4 separate regions of the Homo sapiens genome follow, and all the other regions are linked to region 1. The links are contacts of gene promoters, found by promoter capture Hi-C in blood cells and fetal thymus (Javierre and others, 2016). All regions are on one chromosome and are shown on one strand. The core of a region is centred on a gene start or on the middle of the fragment in contact, and the rest is flanking DNA. Distances in the headings are between cores, read along the strand shown.

Region 1 (3,368 bases), core at 641-3,140:
AGGGACTTCAGGTCAAGACCACACCCACCATCCTTTCAAGGTGGAGACAGTCCCCGTAGGAACCAAACTGATGTATAATAAAACTCATCATTTATTTCTCTTCTCCCTACAGCATTTCAGCCAGTGAATGGTAGAATTTTGCAGGAATAAGAATTAGAGGTGTAGAGGGTTTTGAGATGCGGGGTGGGTCAGGTTTCACTACTCAAGGACCCTAAGACAGGTTTTTGGAAGAAGTGTGTGTGTGTGTGTGTGTGTGTGTGTGTGTGTGTGTAGGACCACATTCAGCCACTCCCATGGGCAAGTATGACATATGACCACTCCTCTCTTCTTGCCCCCTGGCCTCCTTAACCTAGAAGTCACCTTGCTGGCTCATGGGATTCCTTGATACTTCTGCAATCCAGCTTCTCCGCTCCAACAGGCTGTCCCTGCCCAGCTGAGCTGGCCCACCCAGGGTTCCCTCACAGTGCTATGGGCCTCCACTGGCCCCCTCTGCACAGCCCATCCTCTCCAATCTTTCTTTCCAAAGTGAAATCTACCAATGCTTACTCTTTGGCTCTGGCCACATGAGAGACAGACAGACATACAGACACACACTTCTTTCTTTTTGCCTTGGCTCACCACTATTCAATGCCTGGAAGCCTTATTTTCTCCCTTGGGAACCTCCACTCAGTCTTTACAACTGTCATCTCCTCCAGGAAGTCATCCCTGCTCTTCTTCCCAGGCTGGTTCAGAGCCCAGGCATCTGAGCATACACAGCTCATTCATAGCCCCCCCCAACATTTAAAAGATGACTTGGTTGGGTGTCTGCCTCGCCCACTGCGCTGGGAGCTCTGGGCAAGGGCTGTGGTGGGAGCCTCTCCCCCTGGTGCGTGGCGGGAGTCCTGGGGCCCCTCCGCGGACAACAGGGCCCGGGGACGTTCCCAGGCTTGCTGGAGGAGCAGCTTTTGAACGAGGCTCTGCCAGGTCCCAGACCCCAGGAAGCTCAGCTGTCTCCTCGAAATCTTGGGGGTGCCACATGGAGCCCAGTCCCTTTCAGGCACGAGCCCACAACAGCTTAACGCTCTCTTTGGTGGTGGCCGGCCCGAGGCAGGCACCGGAGGCGGAGGGAGCCCTGTTCCGCTGTGGCCGCGAGGAGCGGGCTCTTCGCCCGGGCTCGCACATGAAAGCTCCGTGCAGGGTCGGAGTCTGAGCCCGCCGGCCGCTTGGAAGGCTCCTCACGTCCAGGCGCCGCGGTCACGGCTGCGCTGGTTTCCGGCCATGAATTGGGCTTCAGAGTCCGAGCCTCTTGCCCGACTCCCGGCTGAGCGCGCTGCCCATGGAGCGGGGGATGGGCGCCCGCCGAGGTCCGCGCGGCCAGCCAGGGTTCGAGCCCACGGCCCGGGCTCTACTCTGAGATGCTTGCGGCGGCCGGCCCCCTCTGGCTCCCCAGCTGTCCTGGGGCCTGGCCCGGCGCCCCGCCCCGGTCTCTCTTCTTGCTCCCCAGGTCCCACTCCACGAGGAACGGTCTGTTTCGGCCGGGGACATGACCCGAGACGCGCGGCTGCTGAGGTCGCCAGGGCGCTTCGGGAGCCCCTCGAGGGCAGTTAGCGGCCGGCCCTCCTCCATTCTCCCGCCCCTGGCGAACCGGAGAAGGAGGCCCGAACCGTCAGAGCTCGGCGCGCCGCAGCCCAGGCCGGTCCCCGCCGCTGTGCCGGTCTCCGAGCGTCCCCCGAGCCGGGAGCGTGGAGCACCCGGCGCCCCCTCCGAGCCGCGAGCGGGCGAGAGCCGCGCGGCGAGGCTGAGGCTCCGCAGTCACGTGGTAGAGAGGCGGGCGGAGGGGAGGGAGGCGGGCAGGGAGGGGAGGGGGAGCGGAGCTGAGGGGGAGGGGGAGGGGAGGGGGCGTCCTCCGCAGTTCGCTCCTCGCCGGGGCTCAGACACACAGCCAGCCCAGAGCCGCCACGCCGGCCCGGCCGCCGCCGCCACCGCCTCAGCCTCCCCCGAAGCCGCTCTAGCCGCGGGAAGCGCCGCTGCCACAGCCGCGGGCCGCCCCCGCCGCGCCGGCCTGGGCTCAAGCTGCCAGCACCGCCGCAGCCGCCACCGGAGCCGGAGCGGGAGCCCGACCGCGCTGGGCTGGGCTGGGCTGGGCTGGGGCGGGCGCAGGGCGCAGGGGCGGGCGCGCGGGGGAAGACGCACGGGCGGGCTCGGCTCTCCCGGGGAGCGGCCCGGGACTGCACCGGGACCAGCGCCTCCCCGCTTCGCGCTGCCCTCGGCCTCGCCCCGGGCCCGGGTGGATGAGCCGCGCGCCCGGGGGACATGGAAGCGCTGACGCTGTGGCTTCTCCCCTGGATATGCCAGTGCGTGTCGGTGCGGGCCGACTCCATCATCCACATCGGTAAGCGCGGCTGGAGGCCGGGCCGAGGCTGGGCGGGGGCCCCAACGGGGCAGGGGGTGCGCGGCGTCCAAACTTGGCGTTTCCCTGGGCCGAGGGGCTCGGCGGGCGGTGCTCCCCCGAAGGGCCGCGCCGCGCCGCCCGGCGGAGGAGCTGTGCACCGGCCGCGCCGCGCTCCCGCTGGCTGCTTGCCGCTCCCCGGGGCTCCGATCTCCGCGCGGGGCCCCGCGGCCTCTACCGACACTTAGGGCCGACGCTTCGGGGAACACCGGGATGGACGCGCGTCGAGACCCGCGCCCTTAGCGGGGCCGTCGGCGGGTCGGGAGGGCCCTTCTGCGCAGCTCAGAGCAGCGGGGGGCAGGGGGAGGTACAGCGGGGGGCTCGCCAAGTTGGCAGGGCAAGATCAAAGAGGCCGGACCGGAACCGTGTGTGAATGTGTGTGGGTGCGTGTTGTCAGCGTGTGTCGCTGTGTGCGCCTGGCACGGTGTCGGTGTTACTGTGAGAGGGTGTTGGGGTGTGTGGGGCCATCTGAGCGTGTGTTGGTGCGTGCACGACTGTCTGTCAGCCTGTTAGAGTGGACACAGTGTCTGCCTGCTTCTCCGGTGTGTGTCTGTGTAGCCCTTGGTGTATGTGTGAGTGCGTGTGTATCTGGTTGTGGCGACTGCATCCCCATCCTGGACAGTCCTAGAGTTTTGCGTGGTCCAAGTCTTGGGGGCCCAGACGGTCTGGGTGGTGGGAGCCGAGGGAAGAAGCGTGGGCAGCGGGGGGTAGGGGGATGCTGAGCGGGAAGAGATGGATAGAGAGAGAGAACCGGGAGAGAAGATGAAAGCGCAGAGGAGGAGGGGGCGCGCCGAGGGGGAGTGGGCGCGCCGAGGGGGAGTGGGTGGGAGTTGGGAGCAACACGGGAGGAATCTCGGGAAGTTGGGCCGAGTTGGGGGGCTGACAGCGGTCGCTTTGGGGGAGTCCCTCCGCAGTCGTCTTTCCGGAAGTTGGGAAAGAC
Region 2 (3,225 bases), core at 607-3,106, 2.1 Mb after region 1:
TTTTCCAATTTACAATAAATAAATAAAGTGGCAGATGAAGTGACTTAAAAAAAAGAGTTTCTTTCATGCACTGTGATTGACCACATGGGTGGTGGAGTCCCAGACCTAGGTTTGAATCCAGGTGTGTGGTTTTTGGTGAGTTGCTTAGTTAACCCCCATCTCAGCCTCAATTTTTTAGTCCGCGACACAGGGATAAGAAAACCTCCTTCTGGCCGGCACGATAGCTCAAACCTGTAATCCCAGCACTTTGGGAGGCTGAAGTGGGTGGATCACCTGAGGTCAGGAGTTCAAGACCAGCCTGGCCAACAGATACAAAAGATACAAAAATTAGCCAGGCGTGGTGGCAGGTGCCTATAATCCCAGCTACTAGGGACGCTGAGGCAGGAGAATCGCTTGAACCCGAGAGGCGGAGGTTGCAGTGAGCCGAGATTGCCACTGCACTCCAGCCTGGGCAACAGAGTAAGACCTTGTCTCAAAAAAAAAAAAAAAAAAAAAAAAAAAAAGAAAGGAAAAAAAAAAGAAACAAAGAAAAAAAAAAAAGGCTGGACACGGCAGCTCACGCCTATATCCCAACAATTTAGGAGGCGGAGGCGGGCGGATCACCTGAGATCAGGAGTTCGAAACCAGCCTGGCCAACATGGAGAAACCCCGTCTCTACCAAAAATACAAAATTAGGTGGGTGTGGTGGCACATGCCTATAATCCCAGGTACTCGGGAAGCTGAGGCAGGAGAATCGCTTGAACCCCAGAGGCGGAGGTTGCGGTGAGCCGACATCACACCATTGCGCTCCAGCCTGGGCAACAAGAGTGAAACTCGGCCTAAAAAAAAAAAAAAAAAAAAAAAAGAAAGAAAACCTCTTTCCTCATAGAGTGGTTGCAAAGAAATAATATTAAGATCTGAATTTGTTCTAATCTTTGTTGCTTGTTACGACTCCTTTGCTAGAGGTCATCCAGGTGACCAAGTTAAAATAAAACCGTGGCAAGGGAATAGTAATTCAGAAACTAAAAAATGGCCAGGAGGGCTTATTTTGAAGTATTGTATTTCTTGGACAAATGTGCTTATAGGTTGATTTTTATCTTTTGGGCACCACCCTGTGACTGTGATTAAATTAAACATCTCAAAGCGGTTTAAAAGTAGCATTTAAAAAGCCTGTAACTTTGTGCCAAACCTCACATCCTTGGCAAGAGTTAAGTGGAACAGCACGGATGTGTCCAGTAGGGAGCCCTGGTCCCCAGAGTTACGGGGTCTGGGTGAATCTGAGCAGTCCTGATCCTTGCTCCCCAGGCCTTGGCGATCTGAGCAAAGGGAGGGTGGTTTCCAGTTCTAACATCCTATGCTGTGCACAAGCTGGATTTTCTCTTGATCACTGAAAACGCAGAAAACCCCTGGTTGCTGTCTGTCACATTGTTCATATTCCCTGGTGTCCCTGAGAGGAAACGAGAAATTACTGCTGCTCTTGAGGCAGGAGAATAGCAGAGGGAATTGGAGGTTAAAGGGCGGAATGAGTAGAAGCAGAAGCAAGGTGAAGAGGCAGTGAGCAAGAAGCAAGACAAGAAACAGAAGTTGAGCAACCAAAACACAAATAAGATTAAAAAGTGAGTAAGAAGCTCCTGTGGCCAGCTAGGTCTGGACCAAACCTGTCAGGGGCAGCTCCTCAGAGATGCGCATGTGCATTAGAGAGAAAAAGTATCCTTAAAATGACCCCGTATGATAATAAGCTTATTAAAGCTGATGCATATGGACTGCATATCATGCATGTACTTAAGATTATGGGATGGAGGTGACAGGCAAGCACACAAGGGCCAAAGTAACATAAGCAACCCACCTATCAATCAAAAGGCAGATGCTGGCTAGAGATTAGGCAGCCTTGGGAAGAGAAGAAAAATAAACATATAAAAGAGCCCAAAATACACCAAACTGGTGCTGATCTCACTTCGCAGAGATTGGTCCACCCTCCCCTCTCTGAGAGTGTAATACTGTGCTGAATAAGCTTTTGCTGCAAAAGCAATGAATATTTGTTTTGCTGTTTGTGTGTGTCACATCCAATTCTTTGTTCGGGACACCAAGAGCCTGGAGCTGCGCTGCACCATCAGATAACACTCCGGAAGGGGGTCCTTACCTGGAGATGGCCACTCTTCCCCAGTTTCTGCTCCATGAGACTGTAGGAAGTGATCGTGATGAAGAGGGGCATGGCGAAGTTGAAGAAGGACATGGTGAAGAGGAAGCTGGTGAAGTTTCTACAGGGAGAGCGGGTGGAGGATTGGGGTTAGCTCTCAGGGATGGCCAGCTGCCCTCAAGGACCCACCAGCTCTGCCCTAGATGATCGGTTGTGGGGAAATGCCCCATTCAGACAAGCTCGCAGTGTGGTTGCTCCCGGGTCCCAGGTGAACTCCCTTTAGGAGCCAGGGAGCTACAAGGAGGAAGAGGCCTCTTTCTTGTTCAAGTGCTCAGCCCTGCTTTCCTGTTTGTCCCCCAAGCATGAAGAATGGGAAATTTTAGTTTGGGAAACATGTTCACCCAATGGTGGGGATGTCAGTGGGCCAAGAGAAAGGAACATTCAAGGAGCATTCTAGGCCCAAAGGTTTTAAAAGGAGACGGGATAACAAGAAGACTGGATACTGTGTCACTGAAGAAATGGTTGAAGGCACCACAGAAGAGCTTGGGTTCCCAGGTAGTGGTCATGGGGAGGTGAAGGGAATAGTGGGAGTCCCAGGGAGACAGATTCCCATTTTCTGAAGGGAAGACTATGTCACCTTGGAGCCGTCCACCAGGGAGGGGCAGCTGGAAGGACTGGACCCTGGCTGGGGAGTGCCATGGAGGGACACTTGGACCAGGCCCAGCGTTCTCAAGAATGCATCACCTGGAAAGCCTGTCATCCAGTGCAGATGCCTCATGATTAAACACCATGGGTAAAGCAGATGAATGCAACTTGGCTCTGGTGGAAGCAAGAGGGGCTGGAGCCCATGTGACCATTCCTCAAGGCAGTTCCTAAAGGATCCCCCTAAGCCCTTGTCTCCCTAGAGCCTCCTGATGGGGCAGTACCAGAACACGAGCCCCATGAGGGTGGGGACCCTCATGCATTCTGTCCTATTTCTCCAGGGATTGCCTCATAGCGTATGCTCAGGGCATTCCCTCCCAATGCAAGGACCTTAATGTTCTTTGAATCTATTGTACCAAGGGCGTGGCTCCCTCTAGAAATTGATGAGGTCAGAGCCATGATGGTCG
Region 3 (3,025 bases), core at 385-2,884, 2.0 Mb after region 1:
GCAAGTCAACCAAATTCCAAAGGGAGACAAGCCCCTCCCAGGAGAGACGGGACATTTAACAGTTTCACTTTTGGCTGAGCATAAAAGACAGAAATGACCACCATAAAAAGGAGTAATAAGCTAACATTTTAATGTCTGCTTAAAAGCCAAATGTGGACTAGCACAACAGCAAGCTCTTCCTCATGGGCCTCAACCTAGCATTCAAGAGAAACATATAAGAAAGCCCCCTCTTAACGGCACAGGCATGCAGGAGGTGATGAAAGCCTGCACTGGAACAAACACAAACCCTCTCACTTCCCTGCCTCCTTCTGTCCTCTGAAGCAAAAGCCTTAAACTGCTGGGGAAGCAGCAGCAAGACTTCTCACCCAGGGGCACAGGAAAAAAATCCAGTGCATGTGGAGGAAACAGAATGGAATGGGAGAAATGTTCAGTTGATCCATTTATGTGAGAGTAAGGTCAAGAACTGATTAAAGTAATTATGATAATATGTGTTAGAATACAGCAGTGGTTCCACAGTGCTTGTGTGTATCAGAATCACCCGGAAGACTTCATTAAAACAAGATCTCTGGACTCCACTCCCAGAGTTTCTGAACCAACATATCAAAGGTAAGGCCTTAGGAAAAAGTATTTTTAACAAGTTTCCAGGTGATGTTGATTCTGCCGATCTGGAATTCATACGTTGGAAATCCCTGGGACAGAGACTAACTCTGCAAGAGCGGGCTAACTGAAAAGGGGTTGACTGAGACATTGGCAACTTGATCTGGATGGTGTAAAATTCACCAAGAGTACATCATTTAAGATTTATGTATTTTATTGTATGTAAGTTATACTTCATTTTTTAAAGCTTCTCTTAAAAAATTAAAAGCCTCAAACTGCTTCTACTCCTATAAATAGTAAAAATAAGCCTTACTGCAAAGACAACTTATTCTACAAATTGATAAAAGAAATAAGCATGTATCCTGCTCTTCTTGTATTTCAAAGTAACCAAAAAATTGATGGAAAATCTTCTTTATAGAAGAACCACAACTGATAAATACAGAAAAAAAGATAGAATCACAAAGTAAGAAAATCTGAAACACTCCATTAAATATCAAAACACCCCTCAAAAAAGGGAGTGTGACAGTTAAAACTGAAACTATTAAAAGGTAAGTGGTAAATAACACCAGGGATTAATTATGCTGTTTTCTCTACACATGATGTTTGAAAACATCCATATAAAACTTCCATTTAAAAAAGTAAACCCCAGCCAGGCACAGTGGCTCACACCTGTCATCCCAGCACTTTAGGTGGTTGAGACAGGTGATCACCTGAGGTCAGGAGTTCCAGACCAGCCTGGCCAAGATGGTGAAACCCCATCTCTACTAAAAATACAAAAATCAGCTGGGTGTGGTGGCAGGTGCCTATAATCCCAGCTACTTGGGAGGCTGAGATAGGAGAATCACTTGAACTCGGGAGGTGGAAGTTGCAGTGAGCTGACATTGCACGACTGCACTCCAGCCTGGACAACAGAGTGAGACTCTGTCTCAGAAAAAAAAAATAAAATAAAAATAAAAAAGTAAACCCCAAATAAGGATGCTTTCATCAGGGAAAGAGATAGGAAATAAATTTCAGCACATTCCACATTATCCTCCTTCTCTTAGCATTCATTTTCATTCTCTCTCAGGAGCACTTATATACCCCTATTCAGAGAACTCCCAAACCCTGGATCTCTACATTTAACTCCTCCTACAAAAGACAAAGGACTCTTGAATTAGCAAAATCATAAACTTCTAACTACCCTGACCAAGGCTGATCAGCAGTAGCATCAATAACACCTAGAAACTTGTTAAAAATAGATTTTCTAAGGCCTTACCTTAGATATAGTGCTCAGCAATTCTGTAGAGCCCAGAGATCTTGTTTTAATAAAGCCTTCCAGGTGATTCTGATACACACAAACACTGTGGAACCACTGCTCTATTTTAACCCCTATTATCGTAATTAGTTTAACCTGTTCTTGACCTGACCCTCACATAAATCAACTAAACATTTTTTACATTCCATTCTGTTTCCCCCAGATACAATGGACCCTTCAGAGTTGCAGGTGCACCAGGGGGAGATAAATGAAGTCCCCTCCCAATTCCACAACTGTATAAAATACTATTGATACAGTAATGCCTGAATTAACTCATCCTAGGGGAATTAAGTAATCCTTTGGACATAAAGCACTTTTTAAAAAGAAAAAAAAAAGTTGGGACAAAAAAGTGTATGTCCTGAAAATTAGATATTCCTGGTCTTGAGTCATTTCCAGTGGGAGAAGGTTACAGGAATCTTTCTGAAGAGCAAACTTCACTAAGCAAAGCAGGGTCCTAGGACCAGGAGACAGTAAATGCCTAGGTTCACAGGTCCCACATACAGAAACTCCTCTACTTTCAACTCATAAGCTTCTGTACATATGAACAAGGCAACCAATCAAAATGAAAGTTTCTCAGCAATGCCTGACACCAAAGGAAAATGTTAGCGATTATTTACAAAAAGAATTTATGAACAGCCTTTCAGAACTTAAAACTGTTTGTAAATAAATGAACTTCTGTACCTGAAAAGAGTGGAGATGGTGGAGGAGGGAATAGTTGAGGCAATCACATTACGTGTCTGTGTATAATTAATAAATATATATATACACGTGTGTGTGTGTATATATATATACATATATGTATATGTATATATATATACACATATATACATATATATATATTTAGATAGGGTCTCACTGTCACCCAAGCCAGCATGCAGTGGTGCTATCACAGCTCACTGCAGCCTCAACTCCTGAGCTCAGGTGATCTTCCCATCTCAGCCTCCCAACACATATATATTTGAATTTAGACAAAGTAAAATTACTTTCCAGAGCTAGAGGAACATTAATGGTATAGGTGATTCCACCCATCATTCCACTCTATAAAAATATACTTACAAAGTGAACATATAGGAAAAGACATGAATCTCCTCCTCTCTCAGTAAGTCTCAGTTTATACATGCTTGGCACAGTATG
Region 4 (3,300 bases), core at 251-2,750, 2.1 Mb after region 1:
TGCGTCTTTCAGTCGCCTGTGTTTGTTTTATACATAAAACGTCGAGGGTGTTTAGTGGCACTTAGCAGGAGGAATAGGGAAGGGTTCCTCTATTTCGTTTTCCTGGAAGCAGTTCTCTCATTGTGGTTTTAGTTTGCATTTCTCTAATGCCAAATGATGTTGAACATCTCTTCTTGTGCTTATGTGGCATCTGCAATTCTCTTCCGTGAAATTCAACTATTATCTTAAGCTCTTATTCTCTCAACCTTCTGACAATCTTATTTCCTGCTTTGTTAACAGCAGATTTTCATCTTCTCAAAGAAAATTGAAGTCATTGAACGGGAATTTCCTCAAATTTCTAACACCAATCCCACAAATAAATCAAAATTTGCCCCCTTCAGCCTTTCTCTCCTGCTGCCTGGGGTCCTACCCCCTTCCTCTTTTCAGAACCCTATGCCATTAATTATTGCTTATCTTTCCCATATATTCAATTACTTCTCAATCAACTTTTCCCAAGAAAATTTAAACCTGCTCAAGCTTCACTTTGTTAAACAAAAGCATACAGGACCTCCCCTCCCTTGTGTTTTTTTGTTTCTCTCTTCTATCTCAGTCAAAATTTCTCAAAACGAACACTTCATTTCTATGAAAAAAAATTTTTTTTAATAGAGGCAGTGTCTTACTATGTTGCTTAGGCTGGTCTCAAACTCCTGGCCTCCAATGACCCTCCCGCCTCAGCCCAAAGTGCTGGAATTGCAGGTGTGTGCCTCCATGACTGGCAAAACAAGCACTTATCTTTCCAGTCTGGCTTCTATTCTCTTCCCCTCACTGAAAGCTCTTGCTCAGGTCAATGAAGGCCACCAAGTCACCAAATCCAGTGGGCATTCATCCACCCTTACTTTACTTGACCATTCTTTTTTTCTTGAAATAACCTCTTCCTTATACTTTGGGAAACTCTCACTCCAGGCTTTCTTCCTGGTGCTCTGGATACTCATTCTGGTCCCTCTTGCAGACTCTTCCTCCCCACCAGGCTATTCAGTATAGTGGATTCCTCAAGGCTCAGTCAGGCTCTTTTCTCTCTTCCATTTAAAACCTCTTCCTGGGAAACCTGGCTTCAGTTACCAACTCCATAGCAAAGACTTGCACATCTATATCCCCACCCAGACTTCTCTGAGCTGCGAACTCTCATATTCAATCACCTTCTCTAAATCTCCACTTGGCTGTCACAAAGACACATCAACCATAACAATGCCAGACAGAACTCATGCCCTTTCCCCATAAGCCCAGTCACCTTCTGTTACTCTTTTCTCCATTTCCACTACCACCACTACTGTCCAAACCATCACCATCTTTCACCTGGTTGTCCATAAATAGCCTCAACTGGACTCCCTGCATCCCCTCCACCTGGATGGATGGATGGTTCTTTGTACCACAATGCCAAAATATAAATTGGATTATATCAGCTCCTGCTTAAACCCTTTTAATACCTCCAATTACACTGAGCATCTATCAAGCCCCAAATCCTTTTTTTTTTTCTGAGACAACCTCTCCCTCTATCACTCAGGCTGGAGCGCAGTGGCACAATAATAGCTTACTACGGCCTCGAACTCCTGGGCTTAAGCAATCCATCTGCCTTGGCCTCTTAAAGTGCTGAGGTTACAGGTGTGCACCACCATGCCCAGCTAATTTTTTAAATTTTTTATTTGTAGATACAGAGTCTTGCTGTGTTTCCCAAGCTAGTCTCGAACTCCTGGGCTCAAGGGATCTTCCTGCCTTGCCCTCCCAAAGTGCTGGGATTACAGGCTCAAGTCACTGCACCCGGTCAGCCCCAAATCCTCAACCTGGCCTGTAAGGGTTTCTGTGTTCTGGATCCTGTCTCTTGTCTAGTCTCATGTCATATCATTCCTTCCCTTTCATTTATCACTTAAGCTCCAATGGCCTTCAATCAGTGCCTTTACCTTCATCTCAAAAATACCCCAAAGGGTATGATTTTCTCAAACCTCAGCAATATGAAGGTCCAGAAATCCAGAGGGGAAGCCACCTCCTGTTCTAAATGTGAACATTCTCTGCTTCAGGACCTTGAGTTACGATTCCGTTCCTCCCAGCACTGCCCATTTCCAAATCTGTCCTTCATCCATCCGCCTGGAGGCTTCCACCACTGCCAGTGGATTGTTTCTGTCTTCTGTCTCCTATTCAGATCAATACACTCCTAATGGATCCTGGCATTGGGACATGACATCCTTACCAGCATTGCTTCTGTGGCTGTGTTATGCTGAAGCATAGTGCTTCGTCACCATGCTTCCATGCTACAAGTCACGGAATAATGCCCTTTACACCCTGACATTCAGTCTCTAGTAGCCCCCTTCCTTTACATCCCTATAAGCAACCTTTCCCACCCAGCTCCAAACTTGAACATGGGGAAAATATGAGAATTTTTTGCAAAAAGTCTGTTAGAAATTGATTTAAAAATGACAATTAAAAATGTATTTAGGTGTAGAAGAAGCTTCTACTGAAAAACAGGTGAACAGATGGGGCTGGGGGATTTTGTGATTATTACGTAAAGCCTGTATAGAGGAGAGGAAGGCACTGGGAAGGAGTATCAGGATGTGAAGTAGGACCTTTCTACTCTGCTGAGACATTAGTTTTGAAAATAATTGTGCATGTACTATGCTTCAGGGCCTTGAGAGTTAAGAAGGGGAGAACTTGTGTCACTTCCTCAGGGAAGCCTTTCTGGATCCCTCCTGCTACTTTTGAGTTTCATCTTTTCTGAGTTCCCATTGCACTTTCCATTAATTCACTAAATTAATTAATTATTAATTTTTATTAAGATATAATTTATACACCATAGAATTCATTCTTTTAAAATGTACAATTTAGTGGTTTTCAGTATATTCAAAAAGTTATAAAATCATCACCACTATTTAATTTCAGAATGTTTTCAATATCCCCAAAATAAGCCTCATACCTAGTAGCAATCACCTCTCAAACTCCTGTTCTCCCAGCCCCTGGCAACCACTAACTTACTTGCTGTCTCTATACATTTTCCTATTCTGGACAGTTTGTATAAATGAAATAATTCAACATGTGATCTTTTGGGTCTGGCTTGTTTCAATGTTTGTTCATATTGTAGCATGCATCAATACTTCATTTTTATGACTGAATAATATTTCCTCTTATGGATAAATTACATTTTACTTATCCATTCATCAGTTGACTGACATTTAGGTTGTTTCCACATTTTGTCTATTGTAAATAATGTTGCTATGAATACTAGTATATAAGATTTTGTGTAGAAGTATGTTTTCAATTATCTTGGGCATGTAC

Evidence for each region. Contacts are between HindIII fragments. The CHiCAGO score rates a contact against its expected background, and 5 or more counts as called.
Region 2: a contact is called between a fragment that was not itself captured here and the fragment with the promoter of GRID1 in region 1, in 7 of 17 cell types (non-activated CD4 T cells, naive CD8 T cells, naive CD4 T cells and 4 more). The highest score is 14.0, in non-activated CD4 T cells.
Region 3: a contact is called between a fragment that was not itself captured here and the fragment with the promoter of GRID1 in region 1, in 4 of 17 cell types (total B cells, naive CD4 T cells, naive B cells and 1 more). The highest score is 8.7, in total B cells.
Region 4: a fragment that was not itself captured here is called in contact with the fragment with the promoter of GRID1 in region 1 in 11 of 17 cell types (naive B cells, activated CD4 T cells, M2 macrophages and 8 more); the score reaches 15.6 in naive B cells.

Annotation. Positions count from the first base shown.
Region 1 is chr10:86,365,317-86,368,684 of GRCh38, reverse strand. GRID1 (glutamate ionotropic receptor delta type subunit 1) reads left to right here and starts at 1,890. Exons shown (of 16, transcript NM_017551.3): 1 at 1,890-2,371. The coding sequence starts at 2,293. RefSeq lists silencers at 1,192-1,401, 1,512-1,901, 1,922-1,971, 2,202-2,401, 2,432-2,581. The HindIII fragment of the contact is 11,562 bases long and covers 1-3,368 here.
Region 2 is chr10:84,253,338-84,256,562 of GRCh38, reverse strand. RGR (retinal G protein coupled receptor) reads right to left here. Exons shown (of 7, transcript NM_001012720.2): 5 at 2,120-2,237. Among named protein-coding and RNA genes, the nearest start is that of RGR, 9.9 kb to the right of the region's middle. The HindIII fragment of the contact is 272 bases long and covers 1,721-1,992 here.
Region 3 is chr10:84,358,332-84,361,356 of GRCh38, reverse strand. The region is part of intron 1 of CCSER2 (coiled-coil serine rich protein 2); the gene reads right to left. Among named protein-coding and RNA genes, the nearest start is that of CCSER2, 31 kb to the right of the region's middle. The HindIII fragment of the contact is 1,576 bases long and covers 847-2,422 here.
Region 4 is chr10:84,271,733-84,275,032 of GRCh38, reverse strand. No RefSeq gene overlaps it. Among named protein-coding and RNA genes, the nearest start is that of LINC00858, 6.6 kb to the left of the region's middle. The HindIII fragment of the contact is 1,963 bases long and covers 519-2,481 here.